Regions from separate parts of the Homo sapiens genome. Here all the other regions are linked to region 1. The links are contacts of gene promoters, found by promoter capture Hi-C in blood cells and fetal thymus (Javierre and others, 2016). All regions are on one chromosome and are shown on one strand. Each heading gives the region's core, a stretch centred on a gene start or on the middle of the fragment in contact. The rest is flanking DNA. Distances are from core to core; before and after follow the strand shown. Region 1 holds the start of SYNJ2 (synaptojanin 2). Region 2 holds the start of LINC02901 (long intergenic non-protein coding RNA 2901). Region 3 overlaps LOC124901446.

The links. Contacts are between HindIII fragments. The CHiCAGO score rates a contact against its expected background, and 5 or more counts as called.
Region 2: a contact is called between the fragment with the promoter of LINC02901 here and the fragment with the promoter of SYNJ2 in region 1, in 5 of 17 cell types (fetal thymus, non-activated CD4 T cells, naive CD8 T cells and 2 more). The highest score is 10.6, in fetal thymus.
Region 3: a contact is called between a fragment that was not itself captured here and the fragment with the promoter of SYNJ2 in region 1, in 1 of 17 cell types (fetal thymus). The highest score is 5.8, in fetal thymus.

Annotation. Positions count from the first base shown.
Region 1 is chr6:157,980,251-157,984,161 of GRCh38, forward strand. It overlaps SYNJ2 (synaptojanin 2), which reads left to right and starts at 1,613. Exons shown (of 27, transcript NM_003898.4): 1 at 1,613-1,838. The coding sequence starts at 1,712. RefSeq lists enhancers at 849-898, 863-1,378, 919-1,108, 1,129-1,178, 1,379-1,894 and a silencer at 1,299-1,878. The HindIII fragment of the contact is 11,440 bases long and covers 194-3,911 here.
Region 2 is chr6:158,868,101-158,872,011 of GRCh38, forward strand. LINC02901 (long intergenic non-protein coding RNA 2901) reads left to right here and starts at 1,714. Exons shown (of 3, transcript NR_160980.1): 1 at 1,714-1,877. RefSeq lists enhancers at 688-1,360, 1,361-2,033, 1,934-2,103, 2,034-2,707 and a silencer at 1,534-1,853. The HindIII fragment of the contact is 6,622 bases long and covers 290-3,911 here.
Region 3 is chr6:157,376,861-157,380,771 of GRCh38, forward strand. LOC124901446 reads right to left here. Exons shown (of 1, transcript XM_047419644.1): 1 at 2,454-3,911. The coding sequence starts at 3,841. The coding sequence ends at 2,951. Among named protein-coding and RNA genes, the nearest start is that of ZDHHC14, 2.4 kb to the right of the region's middle. RefSeq lists enhancers at 2,654-3,266, 3,878-3,911 and silencers at 3,468-3,547, 3,708-3,911. The HindIII fragment of the contact is 1,650 bases long and covers 970-2,619 here.

The sequences.
Region 1 (3,911 bases), core at 363-2,862:
GTTAGGAAAGAGGAGAGAGAGATAAATGGAAGACTGGGTCCCCTCCCTAAGGCCTTACCACTCAATTTGCAAAACAGGGCTAAGAGAAAACATAAAAACACTTCTCAAGCAACATATGAGTAGGTGAGAACTGAAGTCTGTAAATCTGGGTGTTATATAAGCACTATTATCTGGGACCTCAGCATTCCAGGAAAGCTTCCTGGAAGAAGTGAGTTTCAGGTCAAAAAGTGGGCCAAAGGCTGATCTGCCTCACTGAATGGGCACACTGTTTTCATGAGGTAGTAATGTTTCCATCTACACAGAAAGAAGCTGCTCGGACAGCTGATGAGCATCATGCCTGGGATATTGAGCACATCATGCTTGACCTGGGCAGAGTTTGTGGGCAAGGAAAGGGGCTAAGGGTCAAGATAATCTCTGCTGGGGTTGTTCAAATTTATTACCCAACCATCACCTGAGAGGTTGTCCCCTGAGGATGGCTTGTCTGGTCATTACTGAATGTCTGCAGGGGCATGGCAGTGTTCTGCTTGGCTCTGGGGGCTCTGCCCTTTCTAGGACAAGTCCCAGAGACAAACAGCTTGGCCCAGTACAGCAGAATGGGGTGAGAGAGGAACTGAGTTCGTTTGCGGGCAGGATGGAAACAGCTGATGGAGGCTTCTCGGGCCATCCTCACGTACCCATCACAAGCGAAGGGAATTAAGCCGCCAAACCACCCCAAAGAGTGACTCCAACTCAGCCCTAAACACCCATACCCACCCCACCTCCCCTGCAGCTCTGACAGGCCAAGCCTGGGCGCTAGAACCCCGCGCCAGAAGGCCGGGCCACACACTCCAGCGTACACGCGCGGACACGTGCCGGTGTCCAGAGCCGGTGGGAGAGGCGCTGTCACCATCTGACAGGAGAGGAAGGTGGAGCGCAGAGAAGTCAGGGTCACGTGGTAAGTGGGGGTCGTGGTCTGGGGATCACGGCTCCAGGTCTCTTCGCGACAACGCACCGTTGACCCCCAACACCTCTCCCTGGCGGGGTCGGTGACCGCAACAGCCTCCGGGATAGAACGCTAGTGAAAGGTAACCTTTCTCCAGCCCGCTCCACGCGCTCCGCACCCGCTAAGCGCCTCCGCGAATTAACTCAGGCCTCCGCGCCGAAGTAGGCGCAGTTATGACCCCGCTTCCCCGCAGGGAGACCGAGGCACGCAGGGTCGAAAGGACTCGTCCAGGGTCGCAGGAGCCGACCACACAGGGAGGCGCAGCGCCCCCGGCGGGAACAGTCAGCGGGTCCAGCCTGGCGGACTCCCGGGCCGGGCTGCCCATATAAGGCTGCGGGCGGCCGGCATCGCAGCCAGGCTCCCGGGGTCGCCCCGCGCGGGGCATCCTCCTCCGCAGCGAGGAATGCGTGGCATCCGGGAGGCTCTTCCGCTCCACGCCCGCCTGCGGGGAGCCTCAGCCCCGGGGCGCGGCCTCGCGCAGCTGCCTGGCCGCTGGGGGGAGCGCGGGGCCGGGCGGGAGGCGGCGGCGCGCCCTCACCTGCCCCAGGCTGGGGAGGCGCGAGTGGGGAGGAGGAGGAAGGGGAGGAGGCCGGGGAGGAGCCTGGCGCGGCGGGAGCGGCGGCGCAAAGTGAAACTCTGGCAAGTTGCGGGCGCGCGGGGAGCTGTCGCGGGCAGCGCGCCCTCGGGAGGACGTGGCCCCGGCCCCCGCCCGCAGTGGGCCCGACCCTCATGGCCCTGAGCAAAGGGCTGCGGCTGCTGGGGCGCCTGGGGGCCGAGGGGGACTGTAGCGTGCTGCTGGAGGCGCGCGGCCGCGACGACTGCCTGCTGTTCGAGGCCGGCACGGTGGCCACGCTGGGTGAGTCCGGGCCGGGGGCAGCGACGCCCGGAGGAGAGGGCGCCCGCATTCGCCCAGCCTCGGGAAGACGGGTACCCCCCCTTCCCGAGGGGATCGGGCGGCGCTGGGACTGCCGGGGCGTAGGGGTCGCGCGCAGAGGGGTGGCTGTTTGAATGAAGTGGGGCTGGGGACTCGAGAGAGCACTCTGGCTGGGCCGGTGGCGCACGGAGGCCGGCCGCCCCTCCACGGGGATCTCCGGCCCGCGCCGCCAGAGGATATGGTTGCTGGATAGCCGGCTGGGGCGCTTTGCGTATTCATGAGGATCCCGGGGTGTTGACTTAGCCGGCCTGACCCTGTGCCTGGCGCCTTTTCTTTTGCACCTGTTGATGAAACCAGTGATTGCCCTTTGGTTTGTGTTGGCGGCTCCACTCCTGGAGGGGATGGGGACAAAAGCCCCAAAACATAGGCTCTGGAGAAACCGCTGATGGCAGCTTTGTCCCACGTAAATACTTGGTCGAGAAGCATCGGTGCTGCAATTTATAGAACTTGTAAACAAATATACCATGACCTTTATGCTGTCTTAGATCCTGCCAAGCCAGCGAATTTCACCTATGGACTTCAGAAGCCTTGAAACTGGCATTGTGCTATGGGCTTTAGTACGTGATCTCACTTAATTCTCACAATTCTACTAAAAAGCTATTATTATCCCCATTTTGCAGATGAGCAAACTGAGGCCTAAAGAGGCTAAGTTGCTTGCCAAGGTGACACCATCCACCTGACTTTTATGTGGCTGTTTCTGTAATGTCATTCAATGCGTGGCTTCCTGGTATCGCTAACCTGGGTCCCTTGTTTTGTGCTAACCATTATAAGGAAAACCTGGGTAGCACCAAAGCACGTGAAACCAGGTCTGATTGTTAGACTTCTAAATGTGGACACCCGAGAGTAAGCTCCCACCACTAGGCGTCCAGCTGTAACAGCTTGCCGGTATTCCTAGCTAAACAAGGTGCAGCCCGGGGTCACTCGTACTTGAGGTGGTCGGCAAATGCAGCAGGCTGCTTTGTAGATGCCTCTAGCCTTCTTTTCACATTTGTATGCATCGACTCCCGTTCGGATGTATGTCTTGGAAGGACTATCTCTCCTATTTCTGATTCCCTAATCATTTCATTAACATGCATTTATCCAGCTTGTTCTCAGTCACTTGATTACTGAAACAATGTCTCCAGTAGTCTCAGCATCAAAAGTAGGCAGTGAATTGTAGATTAAGTTATTTTCAGATTATTCTAATTTGTGCTGTCCTGAAGAGTCTAAGTTTGGTTATTTGGTGTGGCCTTGAAAGAAAACCACAGAAATTTCCATTCCATTTTAGATGTCTACTTCATACCACATTTATCGGAAGCGAAAGAGTAATTTCATGGTACAAAACTACTGTTTCATCAAATAGATTAAGATGTCCTTCAGTTGGATTACGGCAACATTAAGCCAAGTTCATACACATTCAAGAATTCTTTGAAGCAGCTTAGAAAAAAGAGATTTTATTTTTTCAAAAGTGAAGATTTAAAAATGATTAATGACAGTAATGTAGTGCATATTTTCCATTAGGAGCTGAAGTTTGGGCTGAGATTTACATCACGGTGGTGATTACAGTATACCAGATTTTAGAACAGAGAATGTAAGAAAGGAATTGGCTCGTCTTCAACTCATGTGCAGTCCACATTTGTCATTTAACCTAGCATTCATTTTTCAGTAGAAAACTTTAAAAAAAAATTTTTTTTTTTTTTGAAACAGAGGCTTCTTCTGTTGCCTAGGCTGGCATGCAGTGGCACAGTCACAGCCCACTGCAGCCTCAACTTCCCAGGCTCAAGCGATCCTCCTGCCTCAGCCTCCTGAGTAGCTGGGACTATAGGCACATGCCACCATGCCTGGCTAATTTTTTCTCTTTCTTTTCTTTTCTTTAAATGGGGTCTTACTATGTTGCCCATGCTGTTCTCGAACTCCTGGGCTCAGGTGATCTTTCCGCCTTGGTCTCCCAAAGCGTTGGGATTACAGGCATGAACTACTTACTGCGTCTGGCCTGAAAACTTAATTTTTTAAAGT
Region 2 (3,911 bases), core at 464-2,963, 890 kb after region 1:
AGGATTGAAAAAGAGGGCACTCTGATAGGATAGAAATGGAACATGGGTGGGGACAATAAGGGAATAAAAGCTGGCCACCCCAGCCAGCAGCGGCATCCCACTTGGGTCCTCCTCCATGCTGTGGAAGCTTTTTCGCTCTTCACAATAAACCTTGCTACTGCTCACTCTTTGGGTCCCGGCCATCTTTAAGAGCTGTAACACTCACCGCGAAGGTCTGTGGCTTCATTCTTGAAGTCACTGAGACCACGAACCCACTGGCAGGAACCAAGTCCAGACACAATGTTATGCAAGCTTTCTAGACCCTTTCTGTAAAATGGGTATAATAATAGTATCTAAGTCATGGGGATTTTGTGAGGATTAAATGAAATGCCTGTTAAGCATTTAAAATGCCTGGCACATTGAAAGTTCTTTTTGGAGACAAGTCTTGCTCTGCCGCCCAGGCTGGAGTGCAGTGACATGATCTCTGCTCACTGCAGCCTCTGCCTCCTGGGTTCAAGCAATTCGGTGCCTCAGCCCTGAGTAGCTGGGATTACAGGCATGCGCCAACACGCCCACCCAATTTTTGTATTTTTAGTAGAGATGGGGTTTCACCATGTTGGCCAGGGTGGTCTGGAACTCCTGACCTCAGGTTATCCTCCTGCCTCGACCTCCCAAAGTGCTAGGATTACAGGTGTGAACCACTGCCTTTGGGCCAAAAGTACTTAATTCTTATTGATGTCCACATTCAACAATTACTAGGTTTGTTTTTTCTGCATCCAGCTGCAAATGATCTTCAAAGTTGTGAACTCAGGAAATCTCAGAGGCGTTTATAGGCTTTCCAACCAGAGATGATATTTGTAATTCAAAGAAGTAAATAGAAATCCTTAAGAGAACCCCTTTCAAGCTAAGTTCCCATCTAATATGGAGTGGTGGCTTCGAATGATCCTTTTGGCTTATCTTTTTAAGTGTAAGAATTTTTGATGAATCACACTTCGTACCTATTTGGTCACTTTCACCAAAGTACAAAACCAGTCTGCCACCAGAAGAAATTTAATAACCTTGAGACTCAGAGAAGCAATGCTGCCTGATTGGTGGACAGCCAGACCAGTGAGGGTCAGACGTGGCTCTTCGGCTCCGGACACGGGAATGTGGTGGAAATGAGATCCTCCAGCGATTCTAAGGAGTGTTTTGTTCTTCTGGCTTAAGAGAAGGGCAGAGGACAGAACCAAGGGGAAAGAGAGACAGGCCCAGCCATTGTCTGACGTGAGGCACGATAACACATTAGAGGGCTGGTTTAGCAAAGGGCAAGGTAGAGTTGGCATTAGACGCGCTTGCAAAGGGAGGCGGGCAAGAGCTTCAAGACGCGAATGACACTTGAGCAGCCTGGGCTCACGTCTGGTAAGGTTTACGCCGCCTGTTCCCGCCATCTGGCAACTCCCTCCCAGAAGGGTGAGTTTGGTTCTTGGCAAATCCCCTTCGGACACACAAGCTCTTTTATTAAAATATAACCCCACTAACAGATTGCAGACTAGGCACAGAAGCCCCAAAGCACCCCCAGAGACCGCAGCAGTCCCGCCCCGCCGCCCCCGGATCCGCGCGGCTGCCAGAAGCTCCCCTCCCCCAGATCTTGGCCCCTCCCTGAGGCGCGCGAGCGTGTCGTCGCCCGCTCCCGGCCAATCAGGGCGCGCGACCAAAATAGCGCCATATAAAAGCTGGATGGCGGGCGCGGCCGGTGCAGAGCCTCGCGCTGGGGTGGGGTTGCGCGCGCAGGTGAGGGGGGCGGGGCCGGCGCGACCGGCGGGGCGGGGCGGACACTCCCACCGCGCACCTGCTTCTGCCTGACGTGTACCCGGAAGGTCGTCAGCTCAGGCTCCAAATATGTAACAGTGAGTTTCTAAGTGAGTCACACGGACGCGGTTGGTTTCCAGTGAGGCATAACTCATCGCTTCACTCTTCTCAACGGTTCCCTCTTCGGAAGGAAGCGCAGTCCGCAGCGTCGTCCGAGGGCGTGATCGCCTGCGTCGCACCCGCGTCTCCAGTGGCCACCCCTTGTCCTACAGGAACGCGCATCTGCTTAGCAGGCGCTGAGCCCTTGAGGAGGCCTAAAATGAATGAACGCGGCTGTGCCTCCTGAGCAGGCTCACAGTTGTGGGTGGGGGACAGAAGGGTGTCCATGCCTAAGGTCGACGGCGATAAGACAGACGTTCTTCCCAGGAGGAGATCAGTTCCAGGTGGGAGGCATTTCTAGGAGTCACCTTTCTCCGAGGAAGTGACCTGAGCTGTAGGAGGTGGAATCACAAAGGCTTTGGTGCCCTACACACCTGGGTTTTAGCCTCAGCTTGAGTCACTCACCCAGTCTGTGACGCTGAACACATCAGGAAACCTCAAACTTTCCCCATCTTTAAGATGCAGATAATAGCCGGTCACCATGGCGTGTGCTTGTAATGGCAGCTACTCGGGAGGCTGAGGCAGGAGGATCTCTTGAACCTGGGAGGTGGAGGTTGCAGTAAGCCGAGATCGTGCCACTCACTCCAGCCTGGGCAACAGAGCGAGACTCCATCTCAATAAATAAATAAATAACACTACATGACTGATAGCATATTTTTGAGGAGCATCTCTCCCCCTCCGTGCTTGGGTTTAATCCCCCCTTCCTCTCTCCCTCCCTCCCTTCCTCCCTTCTTTCTTCCTTCGTTACGTTTCTCTTCATTTCTTTTTTTCTCCATCATTCCTTCATTTTTCTTATTTTTTCCTAACTGATATAATTTACACACAATAAATCGCACAGAAATTAAGAGGACAGCTGGGTGAAGTTTTACATATGTATACACATGTCATTAGCCCCTAGGTCAAGATCTAGAACATTTCCATCACCCCAGGTTTCCAACTGCTCCTTCCGGTCAGTAGTACTTCCCCAGAGGTAACCACTATTCATTTGGACTTAAATTACCAAGTATGAGTTGTGTCTACTCTTAAACTTCATGTAATTGCAATCAAGCATTATGCTTTATTCCAAACTTGTCCAACCCGCACAGGCCACGGTTTTGAATGTGGCCCAACACAAATTTGTAAACTTTCTTAAAACATTGCGAGATTTTTTGTGACTTTATTTATTTATTTATTTTTTTGAGACAGAGTCTCTGTTGCCCAGGCTGGAGTGCAGTGGTGTGATCTCGGCTTACTGTAACCACCGCTTCCCAGGTTCAAGCGATTCTCATGCCTCAACCTCCCGAGTAGCTGAGATTACAGGCTGGTGCCACCACACCTGGCTAATTTTTGTATTTTTAGTAGAGATGGGGTTTCACCATATTGGGCAGGCCGGTCTCAAACTCCCGACCTCAGGTGATCTGACCACCTCGGCCTCCCAAAGTGCTGGGATTACAGGCATCAGCCACCGCGCCCCGCCATGTGATTTTTTTTTTTTTTTTTTAGCCCATCAGCTATTGTTAATTTTAGTGTATTTTATGTGTGGCCCAAGGCAATTCTTCCAGTGTGGCCCAGGGAAGCCAAAAGATTGGACACCTTTGCATTTCTGTTTTTTTTCACCCACCGTAGTGTCTGTAAGATTCCTCCATGTTATCACACGTATCAGTAGTTTGAAGTTTGTTTATTACTGAATAGTATTCTATTGCATGAATATACTTAAGTTAACTTATCCTTTTTACCATTGATGTGTATGTGGGTTGTTTTCAGTTTTTGGCTATTATGCATAAAGCTGCTCTGAACATTCATGTAGTATGATGAATAATTGATTTTAGTAGGATATATACCTATAAAAGGAATTTTTGTGTCATAGGATGATAGGTGTATATTTAGTTTTAGTAGACACTGCTGGCAGTTTCCCAAAAGGATTGAATCAATTTTTGAAAATTGGCTGGCCGCAGCAGCTCACGCCTGTAATCCCAGCACTTTGGGAGGCCGAGGCAGGTGGATCA
Region 3 (3,911 bases), core at 545-3,044, 600 kb before region 1:
GTGCTAAAAGAAAAACTTCAGCTGAATTCAATTTAAAATAGTTTAACTGAGCAAAGAATGATTCATGAATTGGGCAGCCTCCTGAGCCAGGGTAGCCTCAAAGACTGCAGTGCAGTCGCGTGGTGGAAGAGAATTTATGGACAGAAAAAAGAAAGTGACGTACAGAAAGCGGAAATGAGGTACGGAAACAGCCAGATGGTTACAGCTCAGCATTTGTCTTATTTGAACATGGTTTGAACAGCTGGCCACAATTGAGTGGCCAAAACTCAGTAATTGACACCCGAGTAGATCACACTCTGTTTACACTTCCATTTAGGCTACAGTTCAGTGTACAGAGAAACCTTTAGGCCAAACTTAAAATATGTAAAGAGGCAGTATTAGGCTAAACCCCATTTAGCAAAAGTAGATCATGCACTCTTTCAATTCAATTCAAGACTCATTTTTGGATTATTTGTTATTGGCGAGGCATTCTCAAGGAATTTTTAGCAGGTCTTTTGACTTTTCAGTGTCCTTGTTTGAGAAATACAAGTTTTGGTCTCTAATTCTAGATACGCTGACGTCCCTCTAGCATTAAAGTTTGGAATCTATACATTCCTGGAGGGCAAGGACGGTGATTTTTCTTTCAGACCCCTCAACACTTACACCGATGGTGGGTACAGAGTGTGGCATACAGAATTGATGCTGGTGCACACAGAATGAATTCCTGTTCCTTTTTCCCTCTCTCCCTGGCCCTCGCTCCACTCCAGCCAGACTGGTTTTTCTTTGTACCCCTAGAATTTTCCAGGTTGTTCTGCCTTGAGGACTTGGTACTTGCCCCTTCCCATCATTCGATTCTCTGCCCGACCCCAGTCTCTCCATCCCATAACCCTGCTTTGTTTTTTCGTTCTTGTAATTACTCTCTGAAATTGTCTTACTAGTCATTTATTTATTTGTTTATTCTCTCCACCTCTCCCCCAGTCCCCAAATATAAGCTTCTATCTTGGATCTTTTTGTATCACTGCTGCTAAAACAGTACTTAGCACAATCTAGGCCCTGAAATAGATAACTGTAAAATAAATGAATAAACTCTACCATCCCTTATACAGTAGGTTTTACAGTCATCCCTCAGTATCCTCAGGAGATTGGTTCCAGGATCACCTGCGTATACCTGAATCTGCACATATTCAGGTCCTTAAACAGGCTCCACAGAACCTGCATATAGGAAGAGTGGGCCTTTGCCCTCTGAATACTCGCATTTCCCATCCCACGGATGCTGTATTTTCCATCTGCATTTGGTTGAAAAAAATCCGTGTCTAAGGGCATCCACGCTGTTCAAACCCATATTGTTCAAGATCAACTGTAGCTGGTGAGGTGAACTCTGCAGCTATCACACACCAGGTTCTAGTGAACGCTCTTAGGGGAGGGTAACCCATACAAGTGAATTAACCGCAGAGGTCTTAGTACACATGGAGTGGGAAGAAAAAAGTTATCCCCTGGAAGACAACTACAGACAATTGTATCAGCTATTTAGAAATCATATCAGCATATCTTATTTGCTGTGGAAACTTTAGGTAACATTTTAAAACGAATTCATTTCTTTTTATTATGGAAAATGTCAAACATAAACATGAGTAGATGTGGTAGGTAAGAAAAGCATAATGGACTCTCATGTACACTGTGGTGGATGCACTCCGGGGTGTCCCTCACCCTAGGGTTCATGCCCTGTGTACTCCTCTCCCTTTGAGTGTGTGCAAAACATGCTTTCTGGCCAACAGAATGTTCACATTTGAAGTTGCCCCCGTGGGATTGCTTTATGTTATATAAAATTCTGTCTTGCTGGAGACTCACTCTGGGGACTCTCCTTGCAGGCCTGACAAAATAAGTGGCTGTGCTCGGAAAGCCCAAGTGACAATGAAGTCCAGGTAACCTCTAGGAATTGCAGGTTCCCTCTTGGAGCTGAGGACAGTCTCCAGTCTCCAGCCAGCAAGAAGCCAGGGCCCTCGGTCCTACTGCTGCAAGGAAAGGAATTTTGCCTGTGCCCGGAGTCAGAGTGGAAGCCAGTTCTTCTCCAGTGAATGTGAACGCAGCCTGGCCAGCCCCTTGATGGCAGGCGTGAGACCCTAAGTGGGGGACTGAGTGTACCTGGACACCTGATCCATAAAAACTGTGAGAAAAATCTGTCTTGTTTTAAGGCCACTACGTTTGTGGCAATTTGCAGCAATAAATAATTAAGTACAAGTACATGTCACCCAAGGTCAACTATTTTCAACAGTTTCCAATTGTTTCATTTATACCTCCATGTCTGGAGCTGGGTGGGTGGGAGGAGGGGAGTGGATGGGCTGGTGTGTTTTAAAGCACATTTCAGACTTTATATTATTTCGCTGGCAGATACTTTAGTACATATCTCTAACAGACAAGGAAGGACTTTTTAAAAGCATAACCATAATGCCAGAAAAATTCGGTTTCATTGAGAATAAGAGTGGGAGTCTTTTTTAATGCCATCAAATCAATGGATCTATTATATTAATTGGACACCCACAGAAAAGGTGCTTGCAATAAACAGAATAAGAATAATACCCCGTTGATCTCATTAGCTAAAGGACAGGAAAGCATATGAGAGCTTTCACTTGAAATGTATGAAGCTTTCCAGTTGGTTTTTTAAAACTAGTCCAGCCACAAATACTTAATTGTCCCTGTAATATGCTTGTCTCTCATACAATATCTAAAATAATTAAAACCCAATTATTATCGTGTGCTTAAGATCCATTCTCCCTAGACTCTAACCGGCTTTGGAATGGACCCCTGTAAATTTCACTTGTATTCAAAACTCCTTGTAATTGCATGTCATACTCTAATTGCTATTCCCATCACTTTTTCCTTACCACAGCTCCTCCCAACTGGCCCTCTTGGATAAGCCAATCTCATCCCCCTTCGACACTCCTCACTGAGGCACGCTTTGTAAGGGACATACTTAGGGCTCTGGGTTCGATGCCATCTCTACTACTTGGGAGCTTTGTGATGTTTGGCCAGTAGTTAAGCTTTCTCTAAGCTGGATACAATAATGCCTCACCGGGTTCCGGCGAAGATTAGACAAAGAACATGTGTAACGTGCAAACTGCCCAGTACAGAGAAGGCACCGTTCCCCACAACCCCCTTTGTTGGTTCCCATCTCCCACCACCTAGCCCCAGAACGCCCAGCACCACGCCTCTCCTGCCCTTGTCGCGGGGGATGCAGGGACTTGTAGTTTCTAAGGCCCCGAGTCGTGCTTCTCCTCGGCGCAGGCCTGCGGGCGGAAGAACTACACATCCCAGTGGGCTGTGAAAGGAAAGTGGGGCTCGGGAAATTGAGCATCCCTGCCCAGCTGCCTTCGTTTTCTGCGGCCCCGGGGCTATGCCCACCTCTGCGGGGGCTCGGACCCGCGGCAACGCCTGGGAGGGCGCGAGCGAGCAGAAGCCCCAGGCTCCGGCCGTCCCAGGGCCGCGCCCGCAGCTCCTCCTGGGCTGTCGGGTGGGAAGGGGGGAGGCGCAGGCGGGAGAGGAGAAGCACGCGACCCCTCCGCTGCCGAGGGGGCTCCACGGGGGAATGGAGGGAGAAATAAAGCGAGCAGCTGTAAACGTCCGTGGGGAGAAGTGGAGACCGAAAGAGCTGGGCGGCAGCAACCCAAAACCTGGCCTCCAAGGGCTTATACTCCGGGAGGGAGGCCGGGGCCGGAGGGGACCCTGACCGCTTCCTCTGCCCTTCTTTCTCGGCCCGGAAGCCGGCCGAGCCGGGCCCCGAGACCCTCGCCCGCAGCCCGGTCCCGAAGTCAGGCCGGCCTAGGGCCGCCCCACCCCATCCTGGCACCCGGCACCCCCAGCCCATTTCTCGGGCATCACCAGAGTCCCCGGGCGACGCGACCACGCGCCCAGCTGGGGAGGAGGAAGAAGGGAGG